Linked DNA regions of Homo sapiens: regions 2 and 3 are each linked to region 1. The links are contacts of gene promoters, found by promoter capture Hi-C in blood cells and fetal thymus (Javierre and others, 2016). All regions are on one chromosome and are shown on one strand. The core of a region is centred on a gene start or on the middle of the fragment in contact, and the rest is flanking DNA. Distances in the headings are between cores, read along the strand shown. Region 1 holds the start of GTF2A1 (general transcription factor IIA subunit 1). Region 2 overlaps NRXN3 (neurexin 3). Region 3 overlaps NRXN3 (neurexin 3).

Region 1 (2,700 bases), core at 187-2,686:
TGTCCCAGACCATGCAGCTGTGCAGGAAACTGGGAAGCAACTGTTAACAGGGGAATGGACTTGGCGTGAAAAGAAATGTCAAGGTTCATAGATATCCTCTACACCCATTCACAATCTCCCATTTTCTGAGTATTCAAGGCCTCTGGTTTCTCTAATCCCTTTCTTCAAGTCTTGGCAAGATGCATTTTTTTTCCTCTTTGGTAAGACGCCTTTGATATTCTTCAAATCTGGTTTCACCAGCACAGAACTTTGACGTTTCGTTTTGCTTTGTCTCTGGAAGACAAACTCCCTCACTCATCCACGCGACATTTCAAGTCCCTCAAAATTCCCAGGGACAAGAAAACTAGGTACTATGAATTCTGCCTTCCAAACAGCATTCTCTGTTCTGCTTGCAAGGTCGATATAAAGGCAGGATTTGCTTGGGCAGAACAAGTCAAAAGCTTATTGAATTGCACTTATTGAATTGAACATGGAACACAGCCGGCTTGCTCTCTTATAGCGAGAGGCCATGCGAGTTGGTGGGTCAAGGGCATGCATTTCAAAGTGATCAGTCACTATACGTTGGCCACATGGAGTCGCAGTATTTTGGCAATATTTTTAAAAACCAGGGAAAGTTACTGTGCTGTTACAATCCAAAGGCTGGTGGGGTTTTCTTCCACCCCGCATTTCCACTAGCGTGATAAATTATTTAAAGTACGTGGCCTAGTAGAGGACTAACCTCTGGGTAACATAAGCCTAGTCTTCGCAGCGTACCCACTGTGGAAACAAACGAATCAGACGTTACTAATTGTGGAATGTTAAAAGTAGGCCCCGATCGGCTTTTACTCCCTTTGGAAAATCCTACACAATTCTGCGCGCGAAAGACCCACCCTCGGTGAGGCGGTGAGGCGCGAACGCCGCGAAGCTCACAGTCAAAGCCTCGCTGACAAATCAAGAGATGACTCCGCATTTAAAACCTTCCCGAATAGGAACGCGCCAGAGGCCGGAAGCCACGCCACGTGACCAGTCCTCCTCCGCGGCCATTCCTAGCGAGGCAGTAGGCACCGCCTCTGTCACATTTCCTAGCTCCTAAAGCGCGGGACCAGGCGGAAACGTGCGACAGGAGGCGGTCCCACCTAGCTTTGGACTGGAGTGTCAGTAGAACTCCCGTCTTTTCCAGCAACGCTTTGCAAGTTCTTCACCGCAAAGAACTGCCGCAGACTTCCGCCTGGGTGCCAACCACGTGATCACGCGAGCGTTGGAGAGGCGTAGGTCCGATTTCACTACTTCACTCCCCGGGCTCCGCCAGTCCAGTACCCGCCACGGCGCGTGACAACGCGGCTCGCCGGCGGCCTCCGCCCCGGCGCGCCTGCGCACGCGGCTCTCGCGGTGTCTCGCGCTCAGCCCCGCCCACCTCTGCCCCCGCCCTTTCCGCCCCTCCCTCCCCCTTCACCCTGTCTCTCGGCGGCGGCGGCGGCGGCGGTGGTGGCTCGCGCAGCTTGTTGGCTCGCTATATAAAGGAGAGAAGCGGGCGGACCGGACGGCTGGAGCTGCAGCCGGTGGCGGCAGCGGCGGCGCAGGGAGCGGTGACCGGTGGTGGTTTCCCTCCTTGGCGCGGGGTGGGGAGCGGGCAACGCCCCCCGGACCCCTGAAGGGTCGTGGCTTTTTTTTTTTTTTTAAGGCGATTCTCGAGGTTTTCAGCTGCGGGAGGAGTGCCCCCCTCCTCCTCCTCTCTCCGCTCTCCCCTACTCCTTCAGGATTGATTTTGTTTAAAATTTTTTCCCCAATCTTGCGGTGATTTGGGTCACCCTCCGGGTGTTATAGTTTTTTTTTTTTTGGTTTTGTTTTTATCTTGTTTTCTTGGGGTTGCCCCCTCTTGTTTGTGTTGTGTGTGGAAATGGCGAACTCGGCAAATACAAACACCGTGGTAAGGACGTGGTTCGGTGGCCGGCGGGGGCTTCGTTCAGGCTGCAGCAACGGCCGGACCGGGCGGGGGCGGGGACGGCGGCGACTCCCGGCCTCGACTCTTCAGCCGCCCGCGCGGCCGCCGCCGCCGCCGCTTCCCGCCTCGGGCGGATCGGGCCGGAGCGCCGGGCGGCGGGCGCGGGGGGGCGCCGAGGGCTCGCGGCGCGGGGAGGGCGGGGGCGCCGGTGGGGCCTGGGGCCGCCGCGGGCCGGGCCGGGCCGCGGAGGCGGTTGGGCCCGGTCGGGCGCGCAGCCCCGGCCCCAGAACCCGGCCGCCGGGAGGGAGGGCGGGAGGGGAGCCGCCGCTTCCCCCCGAGGGGCCCGTCCGCGCTGGCTTGACGAGGGCTCCCCGAGTGGCTACAGAACAAAAACTGTGTGTGGGGAATCGGGCGAACCCCCGAGACCCATCGTGATCCACTTTAATGCAGTGGAAGATTAATGGTTACTTTGGGGGTTTCTTAGGTTGTTTTTGGCGGCTGTGCTTTGGGAACCTTCTCTGAGGCCATTTTATGTTTAAAAAAAGGACGAAGGTTGGTTGAAAAGCACTTATCTCAGTTCCTTCCGAATGGGTAAAATGGCGAAGGGGAAGACCCCCATCGTATCTTCGCCTAGCAGAAGCACCAAAACAAACAAAAAAAGCCTGCAGTGGTCCAAGTGTCCCCGCTTTCGCCTTGAAATTTACCTACTTCTTCCCGTTGGTCCCTTTTTGTTACTTGCGATCACGTAGGTTTGCAAAAAGCAGTCACATAAATAACCT
Region 2 (2,700 bases), core at 142-2,641, 2.2 Mb after region 1:
TCTTATAGTTTCTTATTCCCAAACATTACCTAAAACACTTTATCTATCTCTAAAAATTATTGATTTTATTTCTCATAGCTTTGAGAACAAATTGATTCTAATAATGTGTTACCTATTCATTTTCTAAGATAATTGCTTTATAATGAATCATTTAAGTTCTATTTTTATTTTACAAAGTTAACAAAAGGCTAAATATTTAACCTTGCTGGATTTAATATTCTAAGTTTTATAAAAGTTCGATTATATAAAGTAAAACAAACAATTGCCTCTGAGCAGTTAACTGAAAAGTCCATTCCCTGACCTCCCCTTAGGATTACCATTCAACAGAAGTAAAAGGTTTCCATTACATACCTGAGAAAAATCCTGCTTATAGAAAGAGATCTTGATAGAAACTTAATCCAGATGGGCCATTTTCAAAAGAAAGGCAGAAAGGGGAAGGGAAGTCAATAGAGGAAAAAGGCAGTCACAAATAGAAATGTCATAACAACATATCGCTATTCTCCAAAAGTAGGAGGAGACTATAAAAAATAGCTGGAAAGATACAAACAGAGAGAGGCAGTCCAAAAGACAAGCTGCCACACGAAAAAAGACCCAGAAACACAAATAGTCATTAAAAGGATGATAGCGACTGGGGAGATAAACACCAAAAGGCTAAACCATAAAATGAAATTGAGATCTAGGTAGTAAGATATTGATAATAGCAGAGAAAGACAGTTTCCACACCAAAATGAAATCAGGAAGACAGAGACACAAAAGCAATAAACATGGAAAGAAAAAATAAAAAGTAGGAACCTCTACAATGAAAAGCTAAAAAAAAAAAAAAAAAAAAAAAGACACAGAGAAAGAGACAAAAAGCCATGTACCTGTACAATTTGAGGTATTAGAAATCACTAAGAGTCTTTTGAAAGTAGAAAACTGCAAAGATACTTACAAATAAAAAAGATTGAATTGTAGAAGCTACAGGCATTTGGGAAAAGGCTGCAGCTAAATTACACCTTGCCCTTGAGGGTGGAGAGGAGGGGTTTGTGAGCAGGTGTCAAGGCAGGGTTCTGGGGGTCAGCAGGATGCTCGGCTGCTGAGTGTCCAGTCTTTCCCTGGGAATCTGAATCAATGGTTTAACAACAGTCTATCCTGAAGAAGTGATTCTCAACTGGGAACAATTGTGGCCCTCTCCAAAAGACATTTGGCAATGTTTAGAGATTTTTTTATTGTGACAATTATGTTGGGGGGGCTACTACTGGCATCTACTATGTAGAGGCTAAGAATGCTGCTAAATGTTCTATAATGGGCCAGGCGTGGTGGCTCACACCTGCAATTCTATTCTTTGGGAGGCTGAGGCAGGTGGGTCGCTTGAGCTCAGGAGTTCAAGACCAGCTTGAGCAACATGGTGAAACCCTGTTTCTACAAAAAAAAAAAAAGAAAGAAAGAAAGAAAAAAAAAAAGAAGAAAAAAAATTAGACGGGCACAGTGGTCATGCCTGTAGTCCCAGCTACTTGGGGGGGCTAAGACAGTAGGATCAATTAAGCCTCAGAGGCAGAGGTTGCAGTGAACTGAGATCATGCCAATGCACTCAGGCCTGGGTGAAAAAAATGAGTCCCTGTTTTATAAATAAATAAATAAACAAACAAACAAACAAACCATAATGCACCATACAATTGCCCCAAAGAATTATCCGGTCAAAAATGTCAATTATAGCCCTCTCCAAGGGGCATTTTTGGGCCTCTACAAGGGGTATTTGGCAACATCTGGAGATATTTTTATTGTGACAATTAGTGTTGGGGAGGCTACTACTGGCAGCTACTGTGTAGAGGCTAGGGATGCTGTTAAATATCCTATAATGCATAGTACAATCCCCTCAAAGAATTAACCAGTCAAAAAATGTCATTGGCATGGCTATTGAGAAATACTGTCCTGCATTCTATTATCACAAGGAAGAAATCTTTTCCATCCATCTGTAAACTGGAATTTGCCATTCCTGAAACAGAATAAAGAATTTCCATGTCAAAGTCTTAGAAAGGGTCACCTTCCACCCTCTTGACTTTTGGGTGTCGGGGCAGGAACCGAAAGAGATCTGAGCAATTACCAGTTACAACAGTAATATGTTTGCAAATAATAAGTTTGACAATATGCTTTATTTAATCAGAACCAGTATTATTATTATTGAAAACTAAGCAAATAGATGCTATATGGTTACACTGGCTACAAATTAATTGGAGACTTCTTTTGATACCCTGGGGCAAGTAACCACCACAAACTCAACTCAAACATATCATGCAGAATAACTGATATACCATATTTCCTCTCTCTTTCCTTTCTTCCTTTCCATTCTTTTTTCTTTTATTTCCTCCCTCCCAACCCCCTTCTTTTCATTCTCTCTTTCTTCCTCTCTCTCTTTTTCTTTATTTCTTCCTTCCTTGCTTTCTTCCTTGCCTTCTTTTAAGCATATTTATCACTATTTTTTCCTATGACATTTTCCCCTAGAGATCTCCCAGACTGGCTGAGCATAGCCTCATCCCCATCCCAATGCTTTCTCTCTGTAAAGATTTCTGCACTTGGTCTGGAACAAGAGTTACATTTAGAATGGATCAGGCAGTGAGAAAAGAGCAAAAGAACTATACCCCTTCATGGTACCTTCTGTATGCAGCACGGAGGCTATGGTAACTCGTGGATCAATGGATTAATTCAAAAGTCCTCTCCATG
Region 3 (2,700 bases), core at 147-2,646, 2.3 Mb after region 1:
GTGATCTCGGCCTACTGCAACCTCTGCCTCCCAGGTTCAAGCGATTCTCCCGCCTCAGCCTCCTGAATAGCTGGGATTACGGGCATGCGCCACCACGCCCGGCTAATTTTGTATTTTTAGTAGAGACGAGGTTTCTCCATGTTTGTCAGGCTTGTCTTGAACTCTCCACCTCAGGTGATCTGCCTGCCTTGGCCTCCCAAAGTGCTGGGATTACAGGCGTGAGCTACCATGCCTGGCCTTTTTTTTTTTTTTTCATTTTTTTATTTTTTTATTTTTTTTATTTTTGCAAAATCACATATCTAGAAAATATTCAGGTTGTTTAAGATAACTATCACTTTTACATTACTCCTAGATTGACTTTGTAATGTACATTAGGAGAATATCTCCTATGAAGAGCATCCCACCAAGTCAGGTGGAGGCCCTCAAATCTGTGTTTTCACACTTAGGTTTCTGGATTTCTGAAGAGCGGATGAGCCTTCCTCATATACCTCCATGTTCAACTCCTCATTCCCCCAGTTTTGTCTATCACCTGTGCACAAAGGACAGTCATTCCTGGGTGCTCCAGGTCAGGATCCTACCACTCCACTCCAGATCTTGGCACCAACACTCTTCTACACCTTCTTTCATCAGCAGCTCAAGACTGTTACACACAGACTCTGTTTAAATGGCTATAGATGCCTGACACCTAAATAATGACTTCTCACAAGAATTCTTAATATAGTCCTTTATATAAGGCTATATATAGTCCTCTGTATAAGGCTTCTTTCCTTTTTTTAACTTTAATTTTCGGTTTAAGGGTACATGTGCAGGTCTGTTGTATAGGTGAACTCCTATCATAGGATTTGTTGCACAGATCAGTTAATCACCAAGGTAATAACCCTAGTATCCAATAGTTATTTTTTCTGCTCCTCTTTCTCCTTCTACCATCCCTCCTGAAGTAAGCCCCAGTGTTTTTTGTTCCCTTCTAAAAAGCTTCTTTCTGTTTTATATCATGACCTTCATACTATACCTGGAAACAGTATACCTTTTTATCCCTCTTTTCTTAGAAATTGGGTTTAAGTGCTTCTTATCCAGTTAATCGAATATTCTTACGGTCTCTTCCAGGCTTAATGAGGTGTTGTGGGCTGAATTCTGTCCCTCCAAACACTCGTATGTTGAAATCTAAACCCCAATACCACAGAGGCTTACCATATTTGAAGATAGGGTCTTTAAGAAGTAATTCAATTAAAATTATGGCATGAGGGCGGACCCTAGTCCAATATGACTGGCGTCCTTATAAGAAGAGGAAACTTGGACACAGACATGTTCAGCAGGAAGACAATGTAAAGAAACAGGGAGAAGACAGCCATCTAAAAGCCAAGAAGAAAGTTCTGGAACAGATCCTTCTCTCACAGCCCTCAAAAGGCACCAACTCAGCCAGGACCTTGATTTGGGAGGTCCACCCTGCAGAACTGCGAGGAAATAAATTTCTATTGTTTAAGTCACCCAGTCCAGGGTACTTTGTGAAGGCAGCCCTTGTAAACTAGTACGTGAGGTATGCTCTATCACCTGCTGTGCTTCCACCAATTAGAATAAAACTCAAATTCCCCACCACATGTACATGGCTGAACATGAACTAGCCTCTCCTTATGTCTCGGACCTCATCTCCCAAGCCCCCCTGGTTTTGTATTCTCCATCCAAACAGGTCTTCTCTAACAGAAGGACTCCCACAAAGGGCTTTTGGGATTCCCTCTCCCTGGAGCACTCCTGCCATGGAGCTTCCCATAGCTGGCTGTTTGTATTCAGGACTCAGCCCAAAGTCCTCACCTCGGACAAGCTTCTGTGACCTACCATCTAAAAGTAGTTATCCCTTCTACCAAAACTCTGCATTAACTGTCTTGGTTTATTTCTTTGGAACATTTTTCTAGCAGAGAAACTCATCACTAGCTTTAGCACCCAGTTTGCACCATAAATTAGTACAATTATAACCCCTTTATGCAGGAAAACAGGTATCATTAGGTTGACCATATGTTTGGGTTTCCCCAGACTGCTTTAATTTATACCCATTCCAGTGTAATTATTAATAGTGCCCCTTTTTGTGATAAAAACAGTCCCAGTTTCGACAGTAAGTAATGTAAAATATATTCTCAAGGCTATCACAATTTTTGAGCTATTTTCTGTACTAGATGATACACCTGGACAAGACACTCAAGACTCCCAAGATGAGAATTTCTCCCAAGACACAAGAGTGTCTTATCTTGGAATTCTTGAGTATCTTCTTATAGGGACATTCTCTTCTTACAAAGACACCAGTCGTATTGAATTACAGTCTGCACTAATGCCATAATTTTAATTGAATTACTCCTTAAAGACTCTATTTTCAAGACACTCTCTTGAGTGTCTTGTCTTGGGAGTCTTGAGTATCTTGTCAAGGTGTATCATCTAAGTTCTGTGAATCACTGCTTTCATATACTGAAAAGGCCACATAATTTTACCCCTCTGTATCTTGGCACATGGAATTTCTTCCCTGAGACCCACCTTTCTTTTCTCCAACCCCAGATGCTGGCCCTCCCCATCATCCATCAAGAAGCTGCACAGAGGGTAACTCTGATCTGAATCTTTCAGTGAGAATTAAGCAATCCTGTCTGCCTATCACATTACAGTGCTATTTATTTCTATATATTTTCCATTTGACTGTGGGCTTCTTAAGGGCAAGAACTG

Evidence for each region. Contacts are between HindIII fragments. The CHiCAGO score rates a contact against its expected background, and 5 or more counts as called.
Region 2: a contact is called between a fragment that was not itself captured here and the fragment with the promoter of GTF2A1 in region 1, in 1 of 17 cell types (M2 macrophages). The highest score is 10.7, in M2 macrophages.
Region 3: a fragment that was not itself captured here is called in contact with the fragment with the promoter of GTF2A1 in region 1 in 1 of 17 cell types (endothelial precursors); the score reaches 7.0 in endothelial precursors.

Annotation. Positions count from the first base shown.
Region 1 is chr14:81,219,695-81,222,394 of GRCh38, reverse strand. GTF2A1 (general transcription factor IIA subunit 1) reads left to right here and starts at 1,436. Exons shown (of 9, transcript NM_015859.4): 1 at 1,436-1,906. The coding sequence starts at 1,877. GTF2A1-AS1 (GTF2A1 antisense RNA 1) reads right to left here and starts at 1,177. Exons shown (of 2, transcript NR_135252.1): 1 at 870-1,177; 2 at 1-756. RefSeq lists silencers at 1,272-1,571, 1,602-1,651, 2,182-2,301 and an enhancer at 2,642-2,700. The HindIII fragment of the contact is 3,079 bases long and covers 443-2,700 here.
Region 2 is chr14:79,028,768-79,031,467 of GRCh38, reverse strand. All of the region lies in intron 15 of NRXN3 (neurexin 3), which reads right to left. Among named protein-coding and RNA genes, the nearest start is that of NRXN3-AS1, 45 kb to the left of the region's middle. The HindIII fragment of the contact is 4,313 bases long and covers 1-2,700 here.
Region 3 is chr14:78,915,542-78,918,241 of GRCh38, reverse strand. The region is part of intron 10 of NRXN3 (neurexin 3); the gene reads right to left. Among named protein-coding and RNA genes, the nearest start is that of NRXN3-AS1, 160 kb to the left of the region's middle. The HindIII fragment of the contact is 844 bases long and covers 975-1,818 here.